7 separate regions of the Homo sapiens genome follow, and all the other regions are linked to region 1. The links are contacts of gene promoters, found by promoter capture Hi-C in blood cells and fetal thymus (Javierre and others, 2016). All regions are on one chromosome and are shown on one strand. Each heading gives the region's core, a stretch centred on a gene start or on the middle of the fragment in contact. The rest is flanking DNA. Distances are from core to core; before and after follow the strand shown.

Region 1 (2,565 bases), core at 40-2,539:
AAGAACAATACAACCCAAACATTTAAATATGGTAAAATCTTGATAAGCAAAAGCTTTTTATTTTACTTCATTTTTACTTTTATAAAAGCTCCTAATGCAATGACGTGTGTCACCTCTCTGGGCTTCAGGGTGTTCACCTTTCAAAAGGCCTCGGTGCCTGTCTGTCCTGCTTCCTGGCTTGTGGTTAGCATCAAAATGACACCATAAAAATGAAAGTTGCAGCCTTGAGGGTTCTTCTGGTTTCATTTCCGACCACAAGGTTGCCAGAGTGACTTTTTTTTTTTTTTAAATAACACAAATCAGTTATCACTTCCTGCTTAAAGCCCTCCAAAGGTTCCCTGTTGCCTAAAGAATAAACTCCAGGCACCTAAGCAAGCCCCACGCAGCCGTCTGCATTTTTCAATCCCTCCAACCTCGCCTTTTGCTATTTCCCCCACCCCACCTACGGCACGTTCCGGTCATAACCAACTAGCTCCTCGCTGAAACTGGCTCACACCGCGGAAGCCCGGGTCGGTGTCGGGGCGAGCCTTCCCTCCTTTTCCTGGAGCCCGTCTCAGGTCTGTAGCCCTCGGGAGGGATTGCAGGGCTCGTTCCCTGCTGGCGTTCATTTAGGTAACCTGTCTACCTCCAGTGGACTTCTAAGTCCCTTTCATGATTTTTCATCTTCCAAAATCAAATAATGGCCCAGCCCAACTTAGCTATAATGCCATGAAAAGAATCTCTGAGCCTCAGTTTCCTTGTCTGCAAAAAGGGCCCAGGAACCGCTCGTTAGGGTCGGTGTGGTGCCTGGAGAGTGCACTGCAAGGCCCGGGGCCCGCAGCGGGTGCCCGACAGCGGGCGTCCAACTCTGGGGGCGGGGCCGCAGGGCCGCTCAGGAGGGAGGTTCTCCAGAGGGGACCCCTTCGGGATTTGGGGGCAGGGAAGGAGATGGGGAGGACTTTCCCGAAGTCCGTCTAATCCCGCTGGCGGAGAGCGAGGCAGGTGGGACCCCAGGATGTCCGCTCGGCGGGGCGACCCCGGCCACCCCCGAGACCAGGGCTTTCCTCGTCCGGCCGCCACGCCCGCGCGCAGCCTCGGGCCACCCCGAAACCCCGGCGCGGTCACTACAGGACAAATTACGCGAGCAGAGCCTAGCGGCGCGCTGGGCATGCGCGGGGGCGGCGCGCATGCCCAGTCCCCCCGAGAGGCGGGAACTCCGGACTGAGACCGGGTCGGGCGTGCGCTGCCGAGAGAGGACGCGCGCCTCAGCCGGCTGCCGCGCACGCGCGCGGGCCCGCGCCGACGCAGCACGGCCTCGAGGGCGCGAGCCCGCGCCGCCGCCGCCGCCGCCGGTCCCGGACCACTGTGAGCCCGCGGCGTGAGGCGTGGGAGGAAGCGCGGCTGCTGTCGCCCAGCGCCGCCCCGTCGTCGTCTGCCTTCGCTTCACGGCGCCGAGCCGCGGTCCGAGTGAGTGCGGGGCGCCGGGCGCGGGGCGCGGGTCGGGGGCTGGGCGGGCTCCTTCTGTGCAGCGGTCGTGGGCTGGGCCGCGGCCCTGAGGGCGGAGGGGCAGAGCGGGGCCGCCCAACCAGTCCCGGGGCGGATGCGGCGGAGACCGGCCCCTCCCGCGCCCCCGGCCCGGGTTCTGGGAGGAGGGGAGGCCGGTGGCCGTGAGGAGGTTGGGGGCCCTCGCGGAGGCCGAGAGGCTTAAGGAGGTCAGGGGGCGCGCTGGGAGGCGGGGGTTCGGGGCGCTGGGTGGTCGGGAGGCTTGGGGAAGACTGGGAGGCTGAGGGACGTGGGGAGGCCGGGAGCTCGAGGAGGTCGGGGGTTTTGGGGGCGCGCGGGGAGGCCAAGGGGTTCGGGGAAGACAGAAAGGCTGGGGGACGTGGGGAGTCCGGGAGACGTGAGGAGGAAGGGGGGGGCGGCTTTCGAAAAGGCCGGGCGCGCGGAGAGGCCGAGGGGCCTGAGGAAGACGAGGAGGCCGGGGCTCTGGGGGCGCGCAGGGCGGACAGAGGCGCGGGGAGGACGGGCCGGCCTCCGCCGGAGCGGACCCAATGCCTGAAAAACAAAAGGGGAGAGGCAGGAGGAGGAAGAGGGAAATCGCAGGGACGTCGGCAGGGTTCGCCCGGACGCGAGAGGGAGGCTCGCGACGGCCCGACCTCCGTCCCCCGGGCGCGGCCTCGCGGGCAGCCAAGGGTGGGCTCCGAGCGGCCTGCCGGTGCCCGAGCCCCAAGCCCGCCGTGTCCCCGAACGCAAACCCTCAAGTTTGGTAGAGCCCCGTGGGCTTCTTGGCGGGAGCCCTGGAGCCCTCACTGAAGTCCTCACTGGAGTCATTGTGCTTCCCAAGTTTTCTCCTCTTCCCCGCCCCCAGCCCCCGACTCTGCCGCGGTGGCTTAGGCGCAACTGTTTGCCGAATTTCTCTCTGGGTTCCTTGTGTAGCGGCATCCTGTTCTTTCTTAGAAGAAGGGGTGTGTGTGTGTGTGTGTGTGTGTGTGTGTGTGTGTGTGAATTGGTTTCATTTAATTGCAGAATTTTGTAGCTAAATTCAGTGAGGGTAAAGTTTCTTTTTTTTTTTTTTTCCGAGTCATT
Region 2 (2,565 bases), core at 33-2,532, 230 kb before region 1:
CAGCAAAACGGGTGCCACGCTCCATAGCCGTTTCCCAGGGGCCTGCCGTCTTGGGCAGAAGTGTCATAAAGGGAGATATTGTTAGAGGGTTTTTTATTTCATTTTATTATTTATTTGTTTATTGTGAGACAGTCTCACTCTGTTGCCCAGATTGCAGTGCAGTGGCGCACTCTTGGCTCACTGCAACCTCTGCCTCCCGGGTTCAAGCAATGCTTGTGCCTCAGCCTCCCAAGTAGCTGGGATTACAGGTGTCTGCCACCATGCCCGGCTAATTGTTTTCTATTTTTGCTGCAGGTGGTGGGGTTTTACCATGTTGGCCAGGCTGATCTCGAACTTCTGGCCTCAAGTGATCTGCCTCAGCCTTCTAAAGTGCTGGGATTACAGGTGTGAGCCACCGCACCTGGCTGTGTTTTTTTTAATTTTTAAATACCCAAGATCTTTATTGATAAACTGCAATAGTAACCATCAGTAAGAATTCATTTTTTCCTTAATTTCCAAAAACTTGCTAGTTTTAACTTAATAGCATTCTCAAGCCACATCTAAATCAGTGTGTGGCAGTAGGCAGGGTACAATGAACGAATGTCTGCAGCCCAGCTGTGTGCTGGAACCAGCTCATCCTGGCTCCTGAGAGCCAGCTTAAATTTTCAAGAACTTTGCGGGCTGGCCGTTAACACATCCATTGTGAAAAAAGTTACTTGCTTACAGTTGATTTAGGTTAGCAAAGTTAACGCGCACTTAGCACTTCCTAATGCCCGACTCCCTTTCGCCTTGGTGTGTCTGCCTGCTGTACCTGCGGGGCAGAGGTGCCGCTCAGCGCTGGCTGCTGCTCCTCTCCACTCCTGTTCAGCGACGTCACCTCAGCAGCTTGAGATTGGGCGGGGTGGTAGCATCTACACCATGGAAAGTGGCAACCACTGAAAGGAGACGCCAGTCCAGCCCAAGCTGGTCGTGAGCGTTCACCCGGGAGCCATTGAGTGCGTGTGTTCCCGTTGCAGCTCGCGAGCGCTCACCTGGGAGCCACTGAGTGTGTGTGTTCCCGTTGCAGCTTGTGAGTGCTCACCTGGGAGCCACTGAATGTCTGTGTTGAGCCACTGAATGTCTGTGTTCCCGTTGCAGCTGGTGAGCGCTCACCTGGGAGCCACTGAATGTCTGTGTTCCCGTTGCAGCTTGTGAGTGCTCACCTGGGAGCCACTGAGTGTGTGTTCCCATTGCAGCTCATGAGCGCTCACCTGGGAGCCGTTGAGTGTGTGTGTTCACGTTGCAGCTCCTGAGTGCTCACCTGGGAGCCACTGAGTGTGCGTTCATGTTGCAGCAGCAGCATTCCCTGTCTTCACCTGAGGCCTTGGCGTGATTGTTCCATGCTTGGGCATTTGGGGTGTTTCTGGCCATCTGTTATAATCAAAGCTACAAACAGCAGTATATAAGGGTGGCAGCTGGATTTCCCATCTGTCCCTAATTCAAACCATAAAGGCTTATAGCTGAAGGGGACATTTGCTGTCATCTTGTCCAAGCCTTGGACGTGAACCAGCCCATGGCCAAAGCATGGCGCACAGAGCAGCGGGGCTGGCGTGTGATGGATTGTTGAGGTTCCCCGGCCCCATGTGTGGGAGCCTGAGGGGGGTTCCCCCGCCCCCTCCAGTCCCTAGCATCTGTATGAGCTTAGGCAGATGATATAATCCATTGGAGGCTCAGCTTCACCCCTGAAGACCCCTTCTGTAGGCCAGCGGCAGAGGAGAGATGCAGAGCCTGAGTCGGGCACTTGGCGTGTGGGGCCTGGCCCCACTGGAATGTACTGTTCCTGCCATTTTCACTGGGCCTGGGCAGTGCTACGTGACCTGGAGCCTTGGTTACCCAGGCACTACCTTCCAGTGCCCATGGAGGGAGGAGAACCTTGGTAAAGAACTGAAGTGGGGTCTCCTGATCTCGGGCCATTTGCCCTCACCAGGCGCTGTTGAGAGGCGTCGCTGTGTACTGGGCCTTCGCGCACACAGAGCAGTCTCATGTGGCAGTAACTTCCTAGTGGGATCCATGGCTCGGTGCCGTGTGGCAAGAGTGTTTCCTACTGTGCCTGTCAATGTAGTGGGCTGGGCAGGGCCCACAGTGGCTCTGTGTCTGATGGGGGAGGGTCCCCCATGGTCCCTGGGTCTCTGCCTGCACCTTGGCTCGAGGGTTCTTTGTCTGGAAGATGCCAGGTGGCCAGGTGACCCGACCACTCGGTGTGGGTCCCGCAGTGCCAGCCGTCCGCCCACCTGCTGTTGCTGGGTGCTCCCCCACGTGGCATCCGACTCCAGGTAGCTGCGCGGCCCTCTTGGAGCAGCCCCTCCTAATGTGCCCTCTTCATCCAGTGGTGACCTTGTGATCCAAGCCTTTGACCTCGGGGACTTAGCTGGTCATCTGGTCCAGGGAGTACTAGGTTGGACCAAACCGGCCTCCTCATGGTCCTCCCCCCACCAACTTGCAGCGTGGCCTTCACGGGGACCTGCGTGTCCCAGCCCAGGCACCTTTGAGGGGTCCCTGCTGCCTCTGGCGCGAGGGGCCACACTCTCAGCCCAGAGCCAAGGCCTT
Region 3 (2,565 bases), core at 20-2,519, 210 kb after region 1:
ATTTTGGATTAAAATCAAAGCTGGGCAATGTGGCATGTTCCTGTGGTTCTGAGGCTGAGGCAGGAGGATCACTGAAGCCCGGGGGTTTGAGGCTGTGGTGTACTATGATCATGCCTGTGAATAGCAACCACACTCGAGTCTGGGTGACTTCGTGAGACTCCACCCCATTTCTTAAAACACAGACACACACACACATAGAGGAATCATGAACATAGGTATGAAAGTGAGTGAGGAAGGTAGTACATTGCAAGTGTTAACAGATAAAGGAAACTAAATAAATGAAGCAAACTTTACAAGAGTGGAATTTCCACAAACCTTATAGCAGCAGGACACCATTATTGCTGTTGATCAGATAAGAGCTGAAATCCAAGCTATCGTGAGAAAGTTGCTTAGCAACAGCATACATAATTGTGGCGCAGACAAGGGAAAACCCCAGTGTTTTGGCAGCACAACAGGGAAGGAAATGATGTAATTTATTGATTTAAAATGTGTGTCCTCTGACTGCCCAATAAATATAGTTCAAAGATAAGTTGTGATAAATCATGTAGCGCAATGGAAGAGAAAGTAATGAGTTGTTAGAAAACAACTTTGATTAAATTTTTATACTAAAGATATAAAATTTCAAATATTTGGAGAATTCTGTAAAAGGAACACAAGTCTATGGCTGTTTGCTGTGATTATTATAGAGATTATACAGTTTCACATTAAATAGTTGTAGTGCTTCGAAACGATGTACAAGTTGAGCATTTCTAATCTGGAACTTCAAAGTTCAAAATGCTCCAAAATTGGAAACTTTTTGAGGACCAACATGTTGCAGCAAGTGGAAACTTCCACACCTGACCTCATGTGACCTCATGTGTAACAGGTTGCAGTCAAATATTTGTTTCATGAACAAAGTTATTTAAAATATTGTATGAAATTACTTTTGGGTTACATGTATAAGGTGTATATGAAACATAAACAGATTTCACGTTTAGACTTGGGTCCTATCCCCTAGATTCCTCATTTTGTATATGCAGACATTCCAAAATCCAAAAAATCTGACATTGGAAACACTCTTGTTCCAAGCATTGTGGATAAGAGATATTCAACCTATACTGTTTTAAATGTCAATATTTCATCTGGAAAAGGTTTTCTCTTATAAAAAGATCAGGTAACTTTGACATCTAAAGACTGTGTGGCTCCTTTTTTCCCTGTGTTTTGTGCTTTCCAAAAGTTTTTTACCAATTTTTTAAACGGCACCAAGACTTTTGGCCAAAATTTTATTTTTTGTGGGTAAATATGTAAAACTAGTGTTAAACCATGTCATGAAGCAAGTAGCAAGATACATTGAGATTACTTTTTTAAGTATGTAGGTAATAGTACATATTAATGTATTGCTTGATAATTTTTTATGTGCCATAAATTTGAGAAAGACCAGTCATACTGTAGTATTTCATATTATGTTTTAGAGAGCAAAATCCACTTCCAGGTGTATGTTTTTTTTCTCATAACTTTAGGGGCAATCCTTTAGTGTGTAGCATTTAAATTTATATTTTTATATTTTTATTTAACCCATTCATACCAGATTAAATTGTATTGCATTGTTTTAAATTATTGTCAAGAGTATCTTTCTCAGAACAGTTCAACATTCCTTCAGTTGTGTATTTTAATTTGTGATCTTTAAAGCATTAAAGCAGCCTGGCTATTTTAATAGTAGAATCCAATTTTTAAAGAAATCACGTATCTAAAATTTTGTCTTCCTCATCCAAGGCAGTTCCCCACTTGATGAGGCCGAGTTGCGGGGTCCTGGGGAAATTGCAGGGCTTACAGCTTTGCTCTTGTCTGTCACAGGTTGGCCAACAGCGAAAAGCAAGGCATGCGGACACACGCCGTCTCTGTGTCAGGTAAGGGGCTCTAGGTAGCAGACCTCGAAAAGCACTCTCATGGGGTAAGACGATCATAGATGTCTATTTTTAGTATAATTGCTTCGTTCTAGAATAGCTTATGAAAATAAGCATTCTGGCTATCCAAATTTGCATAATTTTACCATCATTAAATAGTTTTAAGTATGGCTCATAGTTTTTTTTTTTTTTTTTTAAGATGGGACATAGATAAAATACCAGATCACTCAGCAAGTTGTATAGAATTCCAAATTATTTTTGGGTTTTAATATCATGTTAATCTTATCCAGAATGAAGTTGCCATTATAATTTATCTTGCAATTCAGTAGAATATACTTTGCATATTTATTTTAAGAAGTTCAGGAAATGTGAGACATTTTAAAACAATTTTTGTCTTTCACAATATGGTGTTTGAGTATTGCTTTTTAAAAAATATAGTTAAGATTCTGGCATGAGCATTGTCTTAACTATTTGCTGGTGCAATTAAGTGTGTTGTACTTTCCTTGGTATGTTTCAAAATAGATATGCCTTTTTTCCCATTTAAAAATGTGGGAAATAAAGGAAAGGGGGAGGATGAGAAAGCATCTTCTGTGGGCCCATTTGATATCTTAAAATACATATACCATCTGTATATGCACATATATACATACGTAACCATATACACACATATGTAATTTGTTCT
Region 4 (2,565 bases), core at 23-2,522, 190 kb before region 1:
TTCCATCTGGAGGCACTGCAGGGCTTCTGAAAGCGGCCCATCCCAGGAGCCTGGCAAACACCCCCAGAGACCCTCAGGATGCGCCAGCCCCGGGGCTTTGTCCTGAGAAGCTGGAGCTCCGTGGCCCAGCTTGTGGATGGGTGCCCAGGGGGCAGGCCCCATGCCCTCAGCACGTGCTGACACGCTCCCTCCGGCTCCAACAACCACACCAGAACCTTCCGTAGAACATTTAAGTAATGAAGTCTCAACATTACAGTAAAAAGGTGCAAAGGGTCTCTTTTACAAATATTTATGTACAGCCAAGATCTTGTTGAGTTCAGTATAGCATGCTGCGCGTACACATACGCAGTGTGCACACGGATTCAGGGAACTGAGCGGCACACTGAAGACGAGATCACACGTGTGCACACGGATTCGGGGAACTGAGCGGCACGCTGGAAGACGAGATCACACATGATGCTATTTTACTTTTGATCCCATGTGCTTTCCTGGGCATGATATTTTAGATGGAACTTTTTCTGGTCTGTGATCTTTGGTAGAAAAAAGGTCTCTAGGATTATTATAAAAATGTTGCATCTATTAAAAAGAAAAGGGAAAAAAGACAGCTTGCCTCAGCTGGCCCAACCCCTGTCGCAAACACCTGATCGCAGGGTGGTCCCCTCCACCTGGGTAGGCCCTGTCCACCTTCTGTGATGGGAGAGAGCCCACAGTGGTTACCCGAACCACCCTTCTCAGGCCTCGCTGGAGGCCCCGGGGCTCCAGGCTCCCTGTCATGTGCTCAGCCCAGTGTTCCTCGGTGATTCGTAAGGACTGGGTGAGTGAATGAATGAAGTAAGGAAAGGTAAAACCAGAGACGTGAGGGCCACGGGTCACCTGTGACTCGGCCAAGCTGCTGGCTCCAGTGCCAGCCCCTGGTTGTGGATTCCAGAACTTTCTAGGCAACAAAGTAACCTCCCAGCAGAGGTTATCACCAACAAGACGCAGCTGCCTGCCTGAGACACACCCCAACAGGAAACACCCTTGGTGCAGTTTAACCAGGGGGCCCGAAGGCCTGAGAGAAGGTGCGTGGCCATGGGTCTCGCGGCTGGCCACACGGTAAGTGGGCTCCATGCTGAGCCTGGGCTGCTCTGCCCTGCCACCCCTCCAGGCTTCTGCTCCTGGCAGGCTCTAGGGGGCAGCCAGTCCCCACACATAGGGCACAGTTCCACTTGGCAGACTCAGCCACGTTTATTCGCCTTTCCAAATGGCGACTTTCCCCTCCTCCCTGCCCGACCCACTCAGCACGTATCTGTCCTCAGCCGAGCACAGCGTCCTCACGGTGTCCATGTGCGCCACCAGCTCCTTCTCCACGGTCTTCCTCTCGGCGTCAATCACGTAGATTTTCCCCTTGGGTGTTCCCTGCCCCAGCCCTCGGCTGCCCACCCAGACCTGCCAGGGAGAAACGGGAGGGGTCAGCAGGGAAAGAAGCCCCTCCCAAGAGCACCAGGGCTTTGCCCGGCTACCCAGAATTGACGCGTGTGCCTCCAAATCTATGTCCTTCCTGGACAGGGCCTCTGCCGCCTGAGGGTCAGGGCCGCCTGGCAGGTGCACAGGACCCTTCTCGGGCTTAGAACCTAATGGCCGAGGGGCCTCTGGGGAAGAAGACTGCACTGCGTGCTGGAAAAGTGCTGGGGTGCATCTTAAGTGTTCTCACCAAACAACAGCCACCTGTGTGAGGTGACAGATATGGTAATTAGCTTGTGATTATTTCACAATGTATACTGAAATATCACCTTGTATACCTTAGATATATATAATTTTTATTCATCAATTATACCCCAATTAAGTTATGGGGGAAAACACTAAACGAATTCCGCCCCACCCCCGCCGTGTCTCCGACTTGCTCGGGGCCTGGAAGTCCAGCTTTCCTTCCAATTTCTCCCTTTTCGGATGAGAATGTCTAACCTCTGCCTGGCCCAGCCTTGTGTTTTGGGAAGAGACAGCCTGTTCTAGCTGCGCAGGTTCACGGTGCAAGAGGGGTTGGTTCTGCCCCAGGTGGGACCCGCCCACGGCTCACCCACATCGGAGGGCTTTGGCTTCACTTGGAGATTTGGGGCTCAGAACTGACACTGGAGGGACTGGGACTTCGGGGGATGTAGTGATGGAGGGGGTGTATTTTGCATGTGGAACAGATGTGGATTTAGGGGGCCAGAGGGCAGACTGTAATGGGTTGAACAGTGTCCCCCCAAATCCATATCCTCTGAACCTCAGAATGTGAGCTTCTTTGGAAGTAGAGTCTGCAGATAGTTCAGATGTGGTCACACTGGTTAATCCAGTACGACCAGCATCCCCATAAGAGACACACACAGGGAGAGAGAGTGCCATGTGGTGCAGGCACAGGTTAGAGTGCCACGTCCACAGCCAGGGCACGCCAAGGACGGCGGCCACATGAGCGGGTGGGGGAGAGAAGGGCCTGGAGTGCACGCTCCCCCCGAGCCCCCGAGGGAAGCGGCTCTGCCGACACCTTGGTTTTGGACCTCCAGCGTCGAGAACTGTGAGAAAATTAAGTTCTGTCATTTGAAGCCA
Region 5 (2,565 bases), core at 26-2,525, 180 kb before region 1:
TGTGCCCACGACGGCGTCCATCAGCAAGACGTTGGTCAGCGCCTGCTGGACGTAGTGAGGGTCCTACAACAGAAACACGTGCGTTTCAAAACAGCAAGAATCACTAAGATCAGTTCACCGGAGACCTTGTTGCAACACACAGGACAATCCTTCCAAAATGCCTTTTTCCAAAGTGACATGAAGAGTTTAGATCACGGATGAATTTGGATTTTATGTCATATATTTCTTCTCTTACTTAAGACAAATATTGATTGTTTATACCAGGGCTCAGCCAGTGTTTTCTAGAAGGGGCTAGGCAGGAGGCATTTCAAGCTTTGTGGCCAGTCTCAGCTGAGATCACCCACTGCCTGCCACTGCGGCATGGGAGCACCGAGGGACATTTCATAAACAAACAGGCAGGACTGTGTTCCAATAAAACTTTACTTACAAAGACAGTCCACTGGCCCACGGGCTTTGGTTTGACTATGCTGGTTTATGCTATGTAAACCAGTGGGTATAGCATCAGATGGCTAGTCTAAAAGCCACAGGGCACTGGAATCTTAGAAAGGACCCAGTCCCCCTCTGCCCTGTGACCGGGAACTTCCTGTAATAACAGCAACCCTCCCGCTGTGGCCCCATCTGTTCCTCCTAGCACTGCCACTGTAGTGGGTGCCATCGTCCCCGGCATTTCTCTGAGGATTAGTGGGGCTACACACCTCTTCATAACCTGGTGAACTGTTCCCTTTCTGTGAGTTCCGCGTTCATGGTCTTTGCCCATTTTCTAAGGCGTCTTCCTGTCTTGTGCCACCCTTGAGCAGCGTGGATGCCTCCTCTACACACCACCGGCCCATGGTTCCCTTCATTACTATGCAATTGTCATTTGATATCATCAAAGCTATCAATTTGGCCCAAAGTAAATTAAGGTACAACAATCCCTAGAAAAATCATCTCAACCCTGTGGAAGGAAAGCAGTACTGCCCCTGCCGAATTCCAAATCCTGTGACTGTGAAGAGTCGCTCAGAGCAGGGAAGCCCAAAACACCCAACTCCGGCCTGCGGGTGTGGACAGCACCAGCACCGTCCGCCCCCGGGAGGCCCCACTCTCTGGGATGTCGCCAGTCTGGAGCGGGCAGTGGGGCACCCACACCTGCCCAGACCGCCCTGCGTTTTCTCATCATGCTCTTCCGTAGCACCGTGAGGCCTCTCGCTGGGTCACACAGACCACATCTTCAATGCTTCTGTCAAGATGGTGTCCGACAAACTTACTCTGCTTAAGACACTCAGACCCGAGCCCGAGCACTCACAGCTGAGGACTGCCACAGGACCCACAGGTGGCGAGAGGCCCCTGAGGCAGCCACAGCAAAGGGCAGAGGGGACCCGCGTCTCCCACCTTGTGGTCATCGGCCAGCTTCTTCCCAGCCCACATCTCCTTCACCATCAGGTGCCAAAGGTCACACTCGGTTTTCAGGTTGGCTTCGAAGACTTCTTTCTTGGACGCCACTCTGATTTTTAAAGTGGGTATTCTCCGAAGTAGAAATGTAGTAGTGGTTCTCCTGACCTCCTGCAGAGGCAGAAAAGAAAAGTTAGGAATGTCACACTCAGAGAACACGTGGATTCACCAGAGACAGAGGCAGAGCGGGCTCTGGAATGAAGAGGCAGATGGGCTGCAGGCACGCATCCTGCTGGCATGTGGAAGGCAGGGCCCCGGGTGAGGGGCAGTGTTCCCATGGACGGCAGGTAGGATTCACCTGCGGTGCGGCACCTACACCCACCCACACAGCTGGGCTCGCCCAGTGTCCGAAGGCAGCGCATTCTTTCACATCCTTAAATACTTCTCTCTCCCTCTTTTTGTTTTTTTTTTTTTGTTTTGTTTTTGTTTTTTTTTACTTCCATCTCCCTTTCCTTATATTTATTTACATTTCTTTGGAATTCTAGAAGGAAGTCTGGAAAAGCAGGTGTGGAAAAAAGCATAAACTGAAGGCCAACAGCAAGAGGGGGATCTACTGGCCGAGCATTTACTATGGGCTGCGGCTGTGGCTTGACTGCCTTTCTGGCTTCTATGACCACTCAGCAGGTGATCACATAAAACATTTGTGTATCTGACATGCCTCTTACAGTCCCCTTAAATCTGGGAAAACAACTATAAGGCGTAAGAGGAATCAGGATGAAATTCAGATTTCCTCGACAGGGAAAATGACTACCTTTAGAATATAATGTTAAAACTGTTTGAAGATTTTTTAATTGTTATAAAATAAGCTTGTTATGTTTTATATGAACCAGGTCCGACTGTGACTAGAAAATGTGAGCTACTGTAGCTCACCGTGGCTGGCACATGGCAGTTTCTCAGTAAACATCTCATGGATGAACGAAGGCGTCCTACTGTCCCTAATGAGAATGTCAGCCCACATTCTTACTTCCTGCCTCCCAGATGCAAGTCAGCTGTGACAGAGAATCAGTTACCATTCTAAGCATGCTCCATATGCAAACTATTCAATCTCCACCACCCACTGAGAAGGTATCAGCCTTATTCCTACTTTACAGATGAGCAAACTGAGGGACAGGAAGGCATTCGGTCTGCAGAAGGGCT
Region 6 (2,565 bases), core at 21-2,520, 160 kb after region 1:
GTGATTCGTTGCAGTTATACAACTTGTGTGAATTCAGCACCCTATCTCCATATAAGTAGATTAGTTGAGTGACCTCTTGAAGCAGAATATCTGGGTTCAAGTCCTTATCGCACCTTGACTATTCTATTTGCCAAATTTTATTAGTAAGCTCTTGGTGTCTGTTTCCAAACGTGTAAAATGGGGATAATGGTGATACCTACCTATATATGAGATTGTCGTAAGGAGTTAGATGAGATAATTTATGTCAAGAGCTTAATACCTCTTGTACCCAACACTGAATAAATGTGGACTATAATTATGATTATTATCCATGGGAGATATTGATTGTCAATCAGGATAAAAACCAAACTGTAGAGTTTCTTTAAAGAGCATTAAGAAAAAAAAATAGAAAACAATGTTATTGTTCATCTGTTGATTTAATTTTGAGCCCTTTTAAAATGATTTTTAATTTATTTATTTTCAAAGGTAATAATACATTCTAGTTAGAGAAAAAGTGAAACTACAGTGTCAAATAAGAAAATTTCTTCAACTCCTCTCACTGATAACCACCATCATAGTTTTAATAAATATCCTTATAGCTCTCTGTTTTAACACTTGTGTGCACATTCAATGCATAGTTTTAATATAAGTGGAATAATCCTATATGCATCTTGCTTTTTTTATTCAACTTTATGTTTAATAGATCTTTCCATGTGACTAAATAAAAATATACATTAGTATACTAGTCCACCCAATGAGTATATAATGCTACATACATTTAAACAGCCACATAATAGTGGACATTCAGTTCAGGTTAATAACAATGTAAGGCATGGTGCCATTTTTTGTTCATTTTTGCCTATATGATAGGCAACAGATGATAACTTGCTTTATATTAGTTTGATTACTGGTGATATTAAACCTCTTCACATATATGGCCATTTTTAAGTTTTTTTTGTAAATTAACTATATTTTAAATAAGCTTTTCTAATATATTTTTTCTTTATTAATTTTAAGCAGTCTTTGTCATGTTAACACATCTTGTAATGTTAGTTCTGTATTTTCTTTCCCAGCTCGTCATTTTCTTTCAACTATGTGTATATGGCTCTCATCATTACAGAAGTTTGTCTTTCTTTAATGTAGTAAAATCGTATTTTCATTTTGGTTTTTGAGTTTTAAGATCCGATTTTTAAAAAGGCATTCCAGAACTTAAGATTGTTAAATGTTTGTTTTGAAACTTTTGTGTATTCATTTCTGTTTTTACATTTTCAAATGTGTGGATTTTAAAAATATTTTCTTTTTAAATTAACTTTTGGCTTAATGACATTATGCTCAGATAGCGTGGTCTGTGTGATAAGAGCTTCTCAACTTTTATGGAGACTTCTTTTGTGGACCCTAGAATAAGATCATTTTCCCCTAGTGTTTTATCATGAAAAAGTTTCAAAAATACAAATAAGTTGAGAGACTTGTTCAGTGAGCATCTGTGTGTCTATTACCTGAATGCTACAGTTATTAACATTTTGTTGTATTTGCTTTGTGTGATCAGTTTTTATAAATGTTTTAGTGTGATTCAAAAAATGCACTTCCTAATCAAGCTTGTTAACATACCCATCTGTGATAATGACTTTGCCAATTTCTTCCTATAAGTCTATTAATTTTTCCTTGATATTTTGAGGCGCTTTTATTTAAACATACGAACAATATACCTTCTTGGTAAATTGAATTTTGCATCATTATGTAGTGATCTTCTCTATGCCTGATAATTTGTTGTTGTTGTTCTGAAATCTGTTTTGCTTTCTTTAGGTTAGCCTTGACCTGGTTTATACTTTTCATTTCTTCACTTTCAACTTCTCTGTGTCCTTATACTTTCAGGTGTGTCTTTTAAAAATGTCATAGTGCTGGATTTCTTAAATCCAGTTTGCTAAGTGTTTCTTTGAACTGACAGGTTTAGTACATCTGTATTTCTTAGGATGCGTGATATATTGGACTCGCTTTTATTATTTATTTCCGGTGTCCTAGAAATAAGCTGTGTGTGAGTGCATGTGCTGTGTATTTCTTAGTTGGTATTCTTATTCCACATTTTCTTCTGTAATTACGTTGAAATTTATAAACATCTCTACTCTTTCATTAGTTACCCTTACATTTAACCTTCTATATTAACCAACTCCAGATTTTAAACTTATCTAACCCTCTCTTAAACAATACAAGGACCTTTAAACACCTTAACTCTCCCCATCTTCTTCCAACTTACACATCATTTTTTCCTGTTATTTTAGTTATATCTTTTCAAAATTGAAACTCCAAATATTAGACATTATTATTATTTTATACAGTTATTATTTTTGGCTTTCCCTACATGTATATGATTTTATTTCTTAAACATCCTATATTGGGCCAGGTGCAGTGGCTCATAACCTATAATCCCAGCACACTGGGAGGCCAGGGTAGGAAGATGGCTTGACCAGCACGGATAGCATAGCGAGACCTCATCTCTACAAATAATTATAAAAATTAGCCAGGCGCGGTGGCACGCAGCTGTGGTCTCACCTAGTCGGGAGGCTGAGGCTGGAGGATTGCTTGAGCCCA
Region 7 (2,565 bases), core at 47-2,546, 130 kb before region 1:
CCAGGCGTGGTGGTTGGCACCTGTAATCCCAGCTACTTGAGAGGCTGACGCAGAAGAATCACTTGAACCCAGGAGGCAGAGGATGAAGTGAAAGGAGATTGTGCCACTGAACTCCAGCCTGAGTGACAGAGTGACGCTCCGTCTCAAAAAAGTAAATAAATAAATAAATAAATATAAAAAATTAAAAAAATCCCCAAGATTAAGAAAACTAAATCCCACAAGAGGAGGCAGTGAGGGGTCCCTGGCTCTGCCGCTCACGTCACTTCCCTCTGCCTGTGGGTTTCTGGGAATAGACCACTCTGGGTGGCCGGCAGCAGGAGGCGCCCAGTGGTGCCCACCTCCTAGACATACCTGGGAAGCACAGCTGCGGCAGGGTGAGGAGGTCCACGCCGCCCGGGACGGCGACATCCTCAGGCTCTGGCGCTCTGGGGGGCCCCGGGAGGCCCTTCCACTGCTCTGGTCTGGGCTTCTCTCTCTTCTTTCTCAAGGAGCGCATCCGGGTTTTACCGAGAGTGCCGCAGTTGGCACCGGCCATTTGACTGTCCTCTTTACTGATAAAAGGAGGCACGAAAATGGACAGGACCTCTGGATCAAGAAGAGCAGAAAGATGTTTGACTCCCTTTTTATAAGCAACCTAAAAAAGGGAAAAATAAGAGTTACTGCCACAGCCTCAGCTCTTGTTCGAGGGTATCCTTTCTGTCTGAGCTTCACTGCTTGTTTTTCTCCTCCCCTCGGTGCCCATAAACACTGGCGCCTCAGGCTCCTAACAGTAAAGGGCTCCTGGGAAGCTTCTTTTAGGAACCTGCCAGGCCCTATGTTCAGGGAAGCCACGTAGACTCGCAGAGCCTGGCTCTTCAGCTGTGGACATGGACAGCAGGACCTCACCTCCTTCCTATAAAGCACTGCCGTCCAGGCTGCGGACTGGGATCCACAGACCTGAGTTCAAGTCCTGGCTGTGCCTCCACCTCCTGACAGCAAGCTTCTTTGTCCCTCCAAGCTTCCCTTTAAGCGGCGAGTACAGGGAATAACAGAGACAATGTGGGTCCGGTACTCAGCCCAGCGGGGCTGCCAGGAGCCTATGGATATACTGTTCAGCCCTCCCTGGGTGGGGGCAGGCTCTGTATATTGTCAAACCCCACACATACACATTTACCAGGGCCACGCCCTCCACACCCCCACGTGGGCCAGTGCTGCCTCCTTTCTACCACACTGATCTGGGAGGACGCATGGAGTGAGAAACAGCACTGGTGGGTACAGATGAGACATGTGCCCTTCCTCGGCTGACCAAACAGTCCCTCAAATCAATAAAAGGGGGGCATTTGGCCTGAATTCTTCTCAACTTTAACTTGGCATAATTTTTATTTTTGCCTTTTTTCTTCCCATTCTTTCCTAAAATAATACAAAGCACATGGGCCATCCCTTCAATCTCTCTTCCATGTTACTACTATGCCCAATACAGCTCCTAGTACAGAGCTAGGACAAAACAAATACTGCTGCCCGGCTGATTTCAGATCTTTCCAAGGTGGACACCCTGCAGTCTGCGAGCAAGAAGGAAGTGGTTCTGGTACTAAACTAGCCCGAAACAGCAAAGCTTGAAGCAAGGGGCCCTGGGTACCCAAGGCATGGAGAGACAGGAGGTGGCCAAAGGCAGGTAGTCAAGGGTCTTTAAGGGACCCTAGAAAGGACAGCATTGCCGGGTGCAGTGGCTCACGCCTGTGATCCCAGCACTTTGGGAGGCCAAAGCGGGAGGACTGCTTGAGCCCAGGAGTTCAAGGCCAGCCTGGGCAACAAAATGAGACCTCGTCTCTACAAAAAATAAAAAAATTAGCCAGGCATAGTGGCACATGCCTGTGGTCCCAGCTACACAGGAGGCTAAGGCAGGAAGATCGCCTGAGCCCAGGAGGTTGAGGCTGCAGTGAGCTGTGATCACACCACTGCGCTCCGGCCTGGGTGAAAGAGCAAGACCTGGTCTCAAAAAAAAAAAAAAAAAGAAAGAAAGAAAGAAAGAGCTGGGCGCGGTGGCTCATGCCTGTAATCCCAGCACTTTGGGAAGCCGAGGCGGGCAGATCACGAGGTCAGATCGAGACCATCCTGGCTAACACAGTGAAACCCCGTCTCTACTAAAAATACAAAAAAATTAGCCGGGCTTGGTGGCGCATGCCTGCAGTCCCAGCTACTCGGCCGGGCGGGGGGCTGAGGCAGGAGAATGGCATGAACCCAGGAGGCGGAGCTTGCAGTGAGCCGAGATCTCACCACTGCAGTCCAGCCTGCGCGACAGAGCAAGACTCCGTAAGGAAGAAAGGAGATAGCACTGCCATCCAGAGAAATGGGACCTTGGCTGACAGAAAACGCACAGCCAACACTCAACATTCCAATAAGACACAGCAGTGACAAAAGGGGAGTCTTACGCTGGAAGAAATTTCAACAACGGCAGCAGTTTCCATCAGTAAGCACACTCTGATCTCTATATGACGATTTGCACGCTACATCACTCAAATTCGGTCAACAATTGCTTTACATTTGGAGAAAAAAATGTATCAGTAGGAACCAGGACAAAACATGGGA

Evidence for each region. The method cuts DNA at HindIII sites, captures the fragments that hold promoters and counts their contacts. A CHiCAGO score of 5 or more calls a contact.
Region 2: a fragment that was not itself captured here is called in contact with the fragment with the promoter of PTK2 in region 1 in 1 of 17 cell types (monocytes); the score reaches 5.8 in monocytes.
Region 3: a contact is called between a fragment that was not itself captured here and the fragment with the promoter of PTK2 in region 1, in 7 of 17 cell types (endothelial precursors, total CD4 T cells, naive CD4 T cells and 4 more). The highest score is 8.7, in endothelial precursors.
Region 4: a contact is called between a fragment that was not itself captured here and the fragment with the promoter of PTK2 in region 1, in 3 of 17 cell types (total B cells, monocytes and naive B cells). The highest score is 9.0, in total B cells.
Region 5: a fragment that was not itself captured here is called in contact with the fragment with the promoter of PTK2 in region 1 in 3 of 17 cell types (total B cells, naive B cells and endothelial precursors); the score reaches 12.1 in total B cells.
Region 6: a contact is called between a fragment that was not itself captured here and the fragment with the promoter of PTK2 in region 1, in 7 of 17 cell types (endothelial precursors, total B cells, naive CD4 T cells and 4 more). The highest score is 9.5, in endothelial precursors.
Region 7: a fragment that was not itself captured here is called in contact with the fragment with the promoter of PTK2 in region 1 in 5 of 17 cell types (naive CD4 T cells, total B cells, naive B cells and 2 more); the score reaches 5.9 in naive CD4 T cells.

The regions. Positions count from the first base shown.
Region 1 is chr8:141,000,006-141,002,570 of GRCh38, reverse strand. It overlaps PTK2 (protein tyrosine kinase 2), which reads left to right and starts at 1,289. Exons shown (of 36, transcript NM_001352702.2): 1 at 1,289-1,446. RefSeq lists silencers at 855-1,274, 1,295-1,624. The HindIII fragment of the contact is 6,005 bases long and covers 56-2,565 here.
Region 2 is chr8:141,231,245-141,233,809 of GRCh38, reverse strand. The region is part of intron 2 of SLC45A4 (solute carrier family 45 member 4); the gene reads left to right. Among named protein-coding and RNA genes, the nearest start is that of SLC45A4-AS1, 22 kb to the left of the region's middle. The HindIII fragment of the contact is 5,972 bases long and covers 1-2,565 here.
Region 3 is chr8:140,788,795-140,791,359 of GRCh38, reverse strand. PTK2 (protein tyrosine kinase 2) reads left to right here. Exons shown (of 36, transcript NM_001352702.2): 14 at 1,834-1,886. Among named protein-coding and RNA genes, the nearest start is that of MIR151A, 57 kb to the right of the region's middle. The HindIII fragment of the contact is 3,807 bases long and covers 1-2,565 here.
Region 4 is chr8:141,192,896-141,195,460 of GRCh38, reverse strand. It overlaps DENND3 (DENN domain containing 3), which reads right to left. Exons shown (of 23, transcript NM_001352890.3): 23 at 1-1,428. The coding sequence ends at 1,228. Among named protein-coding and RNA genes, the nearest start is that of SLC45A4-AS1, 60 kb to the left of the region's middle. RefSeq lists an enhancer at 2,335-2,565. The HindIII fragment of the contact is 4,384 bases long and covers 1-2,565 here.
Region 5 is chr8:141,175,565-141,178,129 of GRCh38, reverse strand. DENND3 (DENN domain containing 3) reads right to left here. Exons shown (of 23, transcript NM_001352890.3): 15 at 1,369-1,539; 16 at 1-63. Among named protein-coding and RNA genes, the nearest start is that of DENND3-AS1, 47 kb to the right of the region's middle. The HindIII fragment of the contact is 1,922 bases long and covers 315-2,236 here.
Region 6 is chr8:140,840,151-140,842,715 of GRCh38, reverse strand. The region is part of intron 7 of PTK2 (protein tyrosine kinase 2); the gene reads left to right. Among named protein-coding and RNA genes, the nearest start is that of MIR151A, 110 kb to the right of the region's middle. The HindIII fragment of the contact is 613 bases long and covers 964-1,576 here.
Region 7 is chr8:141,134,578-141,137,142 of GRCh38, reverse strand. It overlaps DENND3 (DENN domain containing 3), which reads right to left. Exons shown (of 23, transcript NM_001352890.3): 2 at 352-634. Among named protein-coding and RNA genes, the nearest start is that of DENND3-AS1, 5.7 kb to the right of the region's middle. RefSeq lists an enhancer at 1,867-2,485. The HindIII fragment of the contact is 594 bases long and covers 1,000-1,593 here.